Regions from separate parts of the Homo sapiens genome. Here region 1 is linked to region 2. Evidence: promoter capture Hi-C in 16 types of primary human blood cells and fetal thymus (Javierre and others, 2016). All regions are on one chromosome and are shown on one strand. Each heading gives the region's core, a stretch centred on a gene start or on the middle of the fragment in contact. The rest is flanking DNA. Distances are from core to core; before and after follow the strand shown.

Region 1 (5,373 bases), core at 1,853-4,352, 300 kb before region 2:
AAGAAAAACTTTATAATAAAAACAAATAAATAAAACTGGCCGTGCGCAGTGGCTCACGCCTGTAATCTCAGCACTTTGGGAGGTGGAGGTGGGCGGATCACTTGAGGTCGGGAGTTCGAGACCAGCCTGGACAACATGGTGAAACCCCGTCTCTACTAAAAATACAAAAATCAGCTGAGCGTGGTGGCTCACACTTGTAATCCCAGCTACTCAGGAGGCTGAGGCAGGAGAACTGCTTGAAACCAGAAGGCGGAGTTTGCAGTGAGCCCAGATCACGTCACTGCACTCCAGCCTGGGCGACAGAGCGAAACTCCGTCTCATAAATAAATAAATAAAACCAGCATCTTGCCCCAGAATCCTCTACCCTAATGGAGGTGAGACGTCCGCACATCACAGAGAGGGGCCGTCATCTGCGCAGGGCCACGGCGGCCTGCAGGACAAGCAATCAGGGCCCACTCTACCCCCGACCCCCACTGTACCCCAGGGCCTGCCTTGCTGACGGCCACCAGCAAGAGCCCAGTAAGTGGGTGCAGAACGCACAGGCCAGAGGTGGGGGCTGAGCCTGGTGCCCACAGACTCCATTTCCCATGGACCTGCCCCTAGAGAATTCCCACCCTGAGGCCACAGGTCTAGAAGCTCTCAGCCTGACGCTGATTCCTGCCAGCTCCCCATGTGGCCATAGCCTCGCTCAAAGGCCCTTGGGTGCCAGGACAAGCGCGTTCACAAAGAACACAGCCACAGCCTCCACCACCTGGAGGCTCAGGCTCGTGCCTTTGGTCACTTGGTCCCCAGGCCTCGGCTTGGACGCCTGTCTCCACAGGCTCCCAGACACTCCGCACAGGGCAGCTGTCCCGTTCTAGGCCCTGGGTATGGGACATGGAGGCCGGGTGGAAGGCCTCAATGGGGAGGCAGTAACAGGATGGTAGGGCGCCCTCCTGCCAGGGGGTCCCACCAAGGGCAGCCAGCAGGACTGAGACAGAACCCAGTCCCTCCCCACCCACCACTCCAGAGCATGCTTCCTGGGGCCAGCACCATGCCTGACCCTCCGTGGGTCCCCACATGAGCTGGACAAATGAACGACCAAAAGACAGGAGGCTGTGGTGCCCCACCCACCTGGACCGAGGGAAAGGGCGGAGGGGAGGGCGCCCTGGTGGTCCCCCGCCTGAGGCCAGGGCCATAGATGACCTTGCAATCCCAGCCCCCCACACCTTTCTCTGGCCTGGATTCCCGAGGGCCCCGGGGAGGCAGGGACCCCCAGCCCAAGTGTCCTGCGGCCCCACCACCAGCCCCGCCAAGGCCCCACCCCAAGTTCTAGAACCTGGCTGATCACTGGCGGTCAGCGGGGACCCAGGAGCGGGGAGGGGTGGCGGGAAGGCAGGAGAAAGTTGAGGGAGGCAGGCGGGCGGGTGGCTAACGGGGTGGTGGGTGTGAGCTGGGCCAGGCACTGCCCACCACCCGCCCGCCCGCCCCGCAGCTCGGGGGCCAATGAGCAGCGGCCGGCCTGATGTCACCCTGCAAATCTCAGCCTCGCTCTCTAACAAAGAGAACAATGGGGCGGCCAGAGGGAAGCTCCGACGATGCCACCGCTGGACCCCACACCCGGGGCCTGCCGCCCGCCGGCCTGCCCAGCAGGCTGCACCCCAGAAGTGGCTTTGACAGCCGGTCCTTCCCCAGGCCCCGAAATCCCTGACTCGGGGCCAGAGAGTGGAGCAGGGACCCTCTCCTGCCCGGTCCCGTCCCCACCCCAGTCAGGGCCCCAGGCTGGAGACTGAGACGTGCGCTCTTTGTACTGTCAGCCTTCTCTCCCGGTCCTGCAGGCGGCCCCCCTAAGCCACCCCTAAACCTGCGCTTGCCCCGCCCCGCCGCCTGTGCTGGGTGTGGGGCGCCCCCCGCCCGGCCGGAGCCCCGGGCCCTCGAGCCCCTCTCTGGGGTGCCCCTGCGGGCGGCCGAGGGCCTGGGCTGCGGCGCGGCTCCCCGGAGCCTTTCCGGGCTGGAGGCGGCCCAGACAAAGGCGGCGGCGGGGCCGGAGCGCGCAGGGGAGGAGCGCGGGCTGCGCCCAACTTTCTCCCGCGGCGGCTGCAGGACAAAGGCGCAAAGGCAGCGGCCGAGGCCGGAGCCCACGCGGGGCGTGTCCGGTGCGGGGCGTCCGGCGCGGGCTGGGCTGGGCTCGGGCGACCCCCTTCCCCGGGGCGGACGGTGCGGGGACCCCCAGGACAGCAACCCCCGACGAGGGCCACTCACCCTGGCGACCCACGATCTCGGCGACGTGCTCGGAGCTGGGCACCGGGACGCACTCGGTCATGTTGACGCTTTTCTTGCGGCTGCCGATCACGCTCATCTGGTCGGCCAGCAGCGTCGGGGGCCCCAGGGCCGCGGGGTGGGGCGCGAAGCCCGCGAACACGTCGGGGGGCGACGGCCGGGGCGGCGGCGGCGGCGGGGGACTCGCGTTGGGGTCCAGCAGCGGCAGCGACCCGGGGGCCACGGCGGGGGCCAGGGTCGGGGGCGCGCCGGCCTCAGGTCCGTCGGGGGGCACAGGCTCCGGAGCCGCCCCGCCGTCCGCGCCCCCCGCCGCCGCTGCGCCGTCCCCGGCCGCCCCCTCCTCGTCCGTGTCGCCAGCGCCCCCCAGCCCGAGCGCCGACAGCTGGTCCAGCGCCAGGCGGAGCGCGGCGGCCGCGTCGTCGGGTTCGGGCGGCGGCCGGGGCGCGGGCGCGGCCTCCTGGGCGCCCTCGGGCGGGGGCGCAGGTCCGGGTCCGGGGTCCTCCCCCGCCGCCCCCACGCCGCCGCCGCCGCCGCCCCCGCCCCCGCCGCCGTCGGGCTGGCCGAGCGAGCTGGGCATGGCGGGAGCTAGCGCTGGGGCCCGCGCTCCTGCCGCCCGCGCCGCCGCCGCCGCCCGCGCCGCCCTCCGCCTCTGCGAGCTGGGCCGCCGGCCGCCTGCATCCAGCGGCGGGGGCGGGCACGGGGGGCCGGGCGGGCGGGGCGGCGGCGGCGCGGGGCTGCTCGGGGCCGGGCCGGGCCGGGCCGGGCGGCGGCAGCGACTCTGGCTGCGGCTCGGCGGCGGCGGCGACGGCGGCGGCGGCTCCTCGGCGGCCGAGGCGGCGGCGGCGGCGCGGGACGCTCCTTCCCTCCCGCCGCCTCCCGCGGCCCCGCCCCGGCCCCGCCCCCGCGACGTCACGCCGCGGCCCAACAATGGGCGGCCCCCAGGGCGCAGGCGCGCGGGGCGGGGCCGGGGCGGGGCCGGCGCCGGGCACGTGGTCCAGGCCCCGCCTCCGCCCGGCGCTCGGGCGGGAACCCGGGCGCATCCGCACGTGCGGGCGCTGCTGCAGGTGTGTGCGGCTCAGCCCCTGCCTGGACAGCGCTCCCTCCCCAAGCCTGAGAGTCCCTGCCTCGCGCGCCCCAGGGCCCGAGGTCCCGCTCCCCAATTTCCCCTAGAGATCCGGGTCGCCCCCAAGCGAGGTCTCTTGCTCCACGCCCGCTTCCTTGTGCCAGGGACCCCCACCTCCCTGCATAAAGGCGTGGGGTCCTCTCCAAGTCCCCCTCGCGATCCCACTGGACTTCGAAGTCAGGCTCCTGCCCGCCCACCGCCTCTGTGCCAGGGTCCAACCCCCGCCCCACGGTGCACCCCCCAGGGCCTGGGGTCCCAGTCCCCAAGTACCCCTTGCTATCAGGTGGGCTTTAGGGTCAGGCCCCTGCCCCACCCCCAGCCTCTGTGCCAGGGACAGCTCCACAATCATGCACACCCCAGGGCCTGAGGTCCCTCTCCCCTAGTCTCTCCTAGCTCCCCTCTGGCTGGCTCCCGGCTTTGGGATCAGGCCACCTCCTCCACGCCACCTCCTCCGCCCCACCCAAGGCCACAGACCCGGTCTCTGTGCCCCCAGCCAGAGACCTCTCTACCACAGTGGTGCTTCCATGGCGAGGGCAGGCTCACACCAGCCAGAACCCTCCATGTGGAGCCCCACCCTCTTCTGGGGTGCCTTTCCCCGCAACGGGCGTTGTCCACCTCTAAAGCCACCCTTGCCGGGCGCGGTGGCTCATGCCTGTCATCCCAGCAGTTTGGGAGGCCGAGGCGGGTGGATCACGAGGTCAGGAGTTAGAGACCAGCCTGGCCAACATGGTGAAACCCCCGACTCTACTAAAAATACAAAAATTAGCCAGGCGTGGTGGCGCGCACCTGTAATCCCAGCTACTCAGGAAGCTGAGGCAGGATAATTGCTTGAACCCTGGAGGTGGTGGTTGCAGTGAGTCGAGATTGCACCACTGCACTCCAGCCTGGTTGACAGAGCAAGACTCCTCTCAAAAAAAAAAAAAAAAAAAAAAAATAGCCGCTTTCCCAGCGGCTCTTCCTCCAGCTGTCCTTCGGGGCCTTCCTTGCACCTGTGGGGTTTTTTGTGATAAACCTGTCTGGCTGGGTCTACCTGCCCCCCTCTTCTACCAGACCTGTCCCTGGCTGGCTGTGCAAACTTGGACCGAAGGCAGGGCTCTCTGGGCAGGAGTGGGGCAGCCTGCCCCTTTGCCTAGCAAGGCTTCTCCTCTGTCCCCTCCCCCCGCCTCACACACCCTGGGTCCCCCTCAGCCACTCTTCTAGTCCCTCAGCCACAGCCACCCACTGCTGGGCCCTTCACTTTTGGTGGCTTCTCTGCCCACTTCTTCCAGGCAGGCAGGGTCAGGATCCCCCTGCCTGGAGCCCTTCCCCACCCAAAATCTCTCTCCTGACCCCAGGCTGCATCCAGCCCCACTTCCCCTCCTGGGGTCCTGGACTTCTCTTTCGTGCACGCCCATGCTTGGAATTGTTTTTCTATCTCTCTTTCTTTCTCTCTTTCTTTTTTTCTCTTTCTTTCCTTTTTTTCTTTCTTTCTTCCTTTCTTTCTTTTCTTTTTCTTTCTTTCTCTTTCCTTTCTTTCTCTTTTTTCTTTTCCTTTTCTTTCTTTCCTTTTTTTCTTTCTCTTCCTTTTCTTTTTTCTGTCTTTCTTTCCTTCTTTCTTTTCTTTCTTCTCCTTCCTTCCTTGCTTCCTTCCTTTTCTTTCATCCTTTATTTCGTTCTTCATTTCTTCTTTTCTCTCCCTTCCTTCCTTCCTTCCTTCTTTCTTTCTTTTTTTTTTTTTAGACGGAGTCTCGCTCTGTCACCCAGGTTGGAGTGCAGTGGTGCAGTCTTGGCTCACTGCAAGCTCCGCCTCTGGGTTCACGCCATTCTCCTGTCTCAGCCTCCCGAGTGGCTGGGACTACAGGTGCCTGACGCCACACCCAGCTAATTTTTTGTATTTTTTGTAGAGACAGGGTTTCACCGTATCAACCAGGATTCTCCCTTCCTTCTCTGCTCCCCTCCCCTCTCCTCTCCTTTCCTTTTCTTTCTTTTTCGGACAGAGTCTTGCTCTGTTG
Region 2 (5,365 bases), core at 421-2,920:
GCCCACGGACCAAGCCTCCTTGGAGTGTCCAGCTGCCCAAAGCGGCCACCGCTATGGCTATGAAATAGAGGCAGCATCGCACTCTTGATAGAAATGAGAAAATTGAGACCCAGATCGGGTAGAGGTCTTCTGTTTGGTGGCAAGGCCAGAATGCCAAGCCCAAGGGCAGCCGCACAGCTTTCCCCCAGCCCCCCACCCTCCCCGGAAGGGACAAGCACCTCTAATGCCCAAACCAGGGCCGGCCATCAAGGCCCACCGTCCCCTGTTGCCCAGTCCAAACTCCCAGTCCAGAAAGTGGAACCCTAGGAGGGGACGGAGTGAAAAAATACAGCCAGGCCCACCAGGCTCCCGGTTCCCCTCGCCGCCCCGGGGACTGCGCTAGGAGGGGCGTTGGTGTAGCCGAAGCGCTCCAACTACGCGCACCTTCCCGAATCGCCCGCCAGGTAGGGGTGAACAAACACGCCAGGGAAATACAGCAGTGTGGACCCGAGCCCCTCGAGGGTCCTCCAATACTATGAAGTTCCCCCGCCCAGACTCAGGCCCCAACCCGCGCTCCTAGCCTCGCCCTCCCCCTCGTTAAAATACAGAGAACGCAGAGAAAACGTGCCGGGCTCCCCCCATCCTGGCCCCACGCCAGGTGCTCTGCCGACCTCTGGGGAGAATCCGCGCGGCCACCCCGGCGGCGGCGACGCGGTTCCTCCTCCATTTTCACAGATAAGGAAACTGAGGCTGGGGGAGGGGGAGAACCCAGAACCCCAGAGCCGGATGCTCCAACCACGGTGCCCACCGCCCAGACCAGAACGCAAAAGAAAAAAAAAAAAACGGAACAAGGCCCAGAAAGGGAGAGAGGTGGTCTGCCCAGGAGTCTCAATCCCGCCCGCAGACCTCGCTGGGCCCCCGGAGCCCCCGCCACTGCCGCCGGGGCGGCCATCCGCTCGCCGCCCGACCGCGTGGCCGCCACGCCCCCCGCGCGCGCCCCACCCACCGAGGCCCCGCCCTGCCGGCCGGCGCGGCGGCGGCCCGGGCGCGCCCCCCTCCCCGCCCCCCACGCGCCACGCAGTTTCGGGGTCCTGGCGGGGGAGGGGTCTCAGGCGGCCGCCCCCGCAAGGGCCGGGATCGCGGCTGCACTCACCTGTGTGCGTCCGCAGGTGCGACTTTAGGTGCGAGGACTTGTAGTAGGCTTTGGCGCAGTCCGGGAAGGGACAGCGGTGGCTCTTGGCGGCGGCGGAGGGCGCGGCGCCGGGGGCGCGGCCCGAGGACGGGGACGAGGCGGCTGAGGAGGAGGAGGCGGGCGAGGCGCCCCCCGGGGCGGCTCCGGGTCCGCCGCGCAGGTCGGCCAGGATGCTGGCGGCCAGCAGGTGGGGCGCCGCGGCGGCGCCGGGGCCCGGGCCAGAAGCGGCGGGGGGCGGCGGGGGTGGCCCCGGGGTCCCGGGTGAGGCGGCCTCGCGGCGCGCCGCGCGCACATCCAGGCCGGCGGCGGGGCCCGCGCCCTCGGGGCCGGGCCGCCCGCGGTGCACCACGGCGCCCGAAGAGATGGCCATGAGCACGTCGGCGGCGAAGTAATCCACGCACGCCACGGCCGCCGACATGCCGAGCAAGGGCGCGCGGCGCGGCGGGCGGAGCGGAGGCGGCGGGAGCGGCGTCCGTCCGGCCGGCGGCGGCTGCTCGAGTGCGGGAGGCGGAGGAGGAGGAGGAGGAGGCCCGGCGCGCGCCGCCGCCGACGCCCGCGCTCGGCCTGCCCCGCCCCGCCTGACGCGTCCTGACGCACCGGAGCCCGCGGGGGCGGCCACAGCCCGCCCCGCCCGGAGGACGCCCCCTCGGGGCGCCGCAGCCACGCCCCCCGCCCGGCGCGCCCTCCACCACTCTCCGAGCCGCGCGCGGCCGCCGGGGGCGGGGCTCGGGCCGGAGGAACCCGCCCCCCGGCGCGCCCACTCCGGCCTCCGCCAGCGCCTAGCGTCTTAGGCCCGGAGCGCGCCTTCTCCGCGCTAGGGTGCAAGGCCGGGAGCCCCGCCCCCTCCCGGCGCGCCCCACTCCAGCGCGCGCCCCCGTACCCTTTCCCGGAGCACCACCCCCTCAAGCCGGGGCGGGAGGCCGAGGACCCCGCCCCCTCTCCGGCACGCCCCTCCTTCCGAGAGCGCGCCCCGCCCCATCCCGGCACGCCCCTCCCTCCCAGAGCGCGCCCCGCCTCCTCGCTGGCGCGCCCACCCCACGCCGGGGCGCGCGGCCGGCGGGAGCCCGCCCCCTCCCCGGATGCTTCCCTCCTGGCCCCGGGCGCGCCCCCGTTCGCGATGGAGGAGGGCTCCGATCCCCACGTGGCCGGGGTTGGAGGGGTGCGGAAGCGGCCGGCCCCGCCCCCAGGCCACGTGCGCGACCCTTCCCCCCTCTTCTCCCGGCCTGGGGCCCTGCTTTGACCCCGCACTCAGGCATCTGCTCGTCCTCTTCTCTGGGGTTCCCCCTCGCCGCTCACAGAGCCCCTCGGAGCCTCCCGGCCGAGACACCCGGTATCCCGCGCCCGCGGCGGGGCCCGGGAGGGTGGGGCAAGGCTGCGTTCGTTCCTCTTTTTGCACCCAGTTCCGGAGCTACTAGAGCGCGCCCCACTGGGGGTGGGGAGGGCCGGTTGGGTCCCAGAGGGTCGGGATAGGGGGACGGGAAGAGGGGGCCGAACGCAAAGGGCTGGGCTGGGCTGGGGGCGCCTGAGCGGGTCAGAGGTTCCCCGCCCTGCTGGGACACCGGGGTCCGGGGCTTCTCTTTCCATTCCCAGGCATCGATTCTTGGGGTTCGGACGGGAAAACTGAGGCCAGGTATTCGGGCCTCCCGGCCGCGAGGACGTCCAGGCCAACTTGTTAAATATTAGGGGGGACACCAGGGACGCGGATGGCCCAGTTCGCAGGCCCAAGGCGGCGGGGGCACAGAAACTGGGCGGCCCCCCTCGGTCGCGACCGCGCTCCCGCCCCTTCCCAGCTCCGGCGGGGCGGCGGGGACTGCGCAGTGGCCGGAGCTGCCTCCAGGGGGCGGAGCTGCTTTGGCCTGCGGCGACCTCCTGCTCTGGGTTGGGCATGGACAGAGGCCCTGACCCGATTCGGGGCTTCTCTAGCCCCATCCCCCGCCCACCTGCAACCCCAGCTGACGCCCTGAGGCTGACCACTGTTCCCTGGGTCGCCCGCACTGCGCCTGGGCTCAACCATGCTTGGTTAAGCCAGCTGAGCCCTCCCTGGGCCCCAGTAAGCCCACTCTACGTGGCTGGACAGAGCGGAGCCGAGAGAGAGGAGGTTCAGCGAAGTGTGGGAGGGTACAGGGTGCCCTGCACACACTTGCCCCTCTCCTAGGCCTGGGCTCCAGAGCCCTCTCTGCACCCCTACCATTCGGTGGGCGCTGGGGGTCGGCGTTCCTGCTCCTGCTGGGCCTCTGTTGTCTTTGAACTTCTAGGACGATGGGCCACTTGGGCAGGTCCCCCAGGTCCCCACCATCCCAGCAGCCCCCAGGGTCCTGGAACCCCGCATTGGCTTGTGGACAGGTGTGTCTTGAGGCCTCAGGGTCCACACCCAACCATGCGTCTTCCACTGATGTTTCCTGGGCTTAGAGCAGAACCAACCAGCCCTGCCCTCAAGGGGCTTACAGTTGTAACTGGGAGGCTAACGATGGGGGGCAGGGGTGAGCAGCCTCCAGGGGTGGGCCACATGGCCCCAGGCAGGACCTTCACTGTGAGACTCCATTGTCTGCCCACTCCAGCCATTATCAGGGTTTCAAGTGAGTGGCCTCATCTGCAGGTCATGCCAGCCACTCCACAGGCAGGAGACCCCAGGTGAGGGCACACAGCCCACACCCCACCCATGAGGCTTCTATTCACACCCCTAAGCCCCAGGAACACTCAGGCAACCCATGACCCCTGCGGTGAACACAGACAAACCTCCAGCAGCGCCCGGCACAGGGCTCTGTCCTCTCTTCCTTACTCTCTATGACCCTGTAAATTCTCCACCGGGTGCGGTGGCTCACGCCTGGAATGCCAGCACTTTGAGAGACCAGGGTAGGAGGATCACTTGAAGCTATCAGTTCAAGACCAGCCGGGGCAACGTAATGAAACCCCCAACTCTCCACATTAAAAAATGAGCTGCAGGCCGGGTGCAGTGGCTCACGCCTGTAATCCCAGCACTTTGGGAGGCCAAGGCTGGCAGATCACCTGAGGTCAGGAGTTCGAGACTAGCCTGGCCAATGTGGTGAAATCCCGTCTCTACTAAAAATACAAGAAAAAATTAGCCGGGCCAGGTGGTGGGCACCTGTAATCCCAGCTACTCAGAAGGCTGAGGCAGGAGAATCGCTTGAATCTGGGAGGTGGAGGTTGCAGTGAGTTGAGATCGAACATTGTACTTCAACCTGGGCGACAAGAGCAAAAACTCCATCTCAAAAAAAAAAATTAGCTGGAGGCCAGTCATGGTGGCTCACGCCTGTAATCCCAGCACTTTGGGAGGCCGAGGCAGGCGGATGACCTGAGGTCGAGAGTTCGAGACCAGCCTGACCAATATGAAGAAACCCCGTCTCTACTAAAAATACAAAAAAAATTAGCCGGGCCTGGTGGCGCATGCCTGTAATCCCAGCTACTCAGGAGGCTGGGGTAGGAGAATCGCTTGAACCCAGGAGGCGGAGGTTGCAGTGAGCCGAGATCGTGCCACTGCACTCCAGCCTGGGTGACAAGAGAGAAACTGTCTCAAAAAAAAAAAAAATTAGCGGGCGCAGTGGCCTCACACCTGTAGTCCCAGCTACTCAGGAGGCTAAGGTGGAAGGGTCGCTTGAGCCCAGGAGGTCAAGGCTGCAGTGAGCTGTGACTGCACCACTGCACTCCAGCCTGGGTGACAGAGTGGGACCCTGTCTCAAAAAAAAAAAAAAAAAAAGGAGTTGTCATTCCCATTCTACAGATGAAAAAATCAAGACTGGGAGAGGACCGAGAACAGCCGGCTCCTGCTCACAGCTAAGAGGCAGCAGACACTTTGGGGCATCCATAACTCAGCCCCTTCTTTCTTCAAACCTGTTCCTCACCTATAAATGGGGGCTCACCTCTACCCTTCCCTGACAGCGCCCAAGAGGATCAGGGGGACAGCTCCTCCCAGCCCCAAAGATGGACCTCCCAAGCCTGAGGGCTATGGAGCAAAGCTCAGCAGGGGACAGACAGCACCCAGGTGTTGCTGGGAGTGGGTCTCTAGCAGGGCAGGAAGAACACAACGGGACTCTCAGAGGGGCCACGGAGCCAGGAACTGGGGCCTTGCCTCATAGAGGGCAAAGAACACAGTCTCCCAGAGGACAGATGAGGGCAGAGGTCACATAACCGGGGGTGCACCCACAACATGGATACCCCAAGGTAGGTGAGGGCCAA

The links. The method cuts DNA at HindIII sites, captures the fragments that hold promoters and counts their contacts. A CHiCAGO score of 5 or more calls a contact.
Region 1: the fragment with the promoter of MEX3D here is called in contact with the fragment with the promoter of KLF16 in region 2 in 3 of 17 cell types (endothelial precursors, total B cells and naive CD4 T cells); the score reaches 5.9 in endothelial precursors.

What each region holds. Positions count from the first base shown.
Region 1 is chr19:1,565,223-1,570,595 of GRCh38, forward strand. It overlaps MEX3D (mex-3 RNA binding family member D), which reads right to left and starts at 3,103. Exons shown (of 2, transcript NM_203304.4): 1 at 2,242-3,103. The coding sequence starts at 2,836. It also overlaps the pseudogene RN7SL477P. RefSeq lists silencers at 3,103-3,292, 3,333-3,382. The HindIII fragment of the contact is 12,069 bases long and covers 1-5,373 here.
Region 2 is chr19:1,861,909-1,867,273 of GRCh38, forward strand. KLF16 (KLF transcription factor 16) reads right to left here and starts at 1,671. Exons shown (of 2, transcript NM_031918.4): 1 at 1,133-1,671. The coding sequence starts at 1,589. RefSeq lists enhancers at 1-99, 3,207-3,761, silencers at 914-1,083, 1,134-1,313, 1,644-2,743, 2,814-3,033 and a promoter at 1,560-2,764. The HindIII fragment of the contact is 13,147 bases long and covers 1-5,365 here.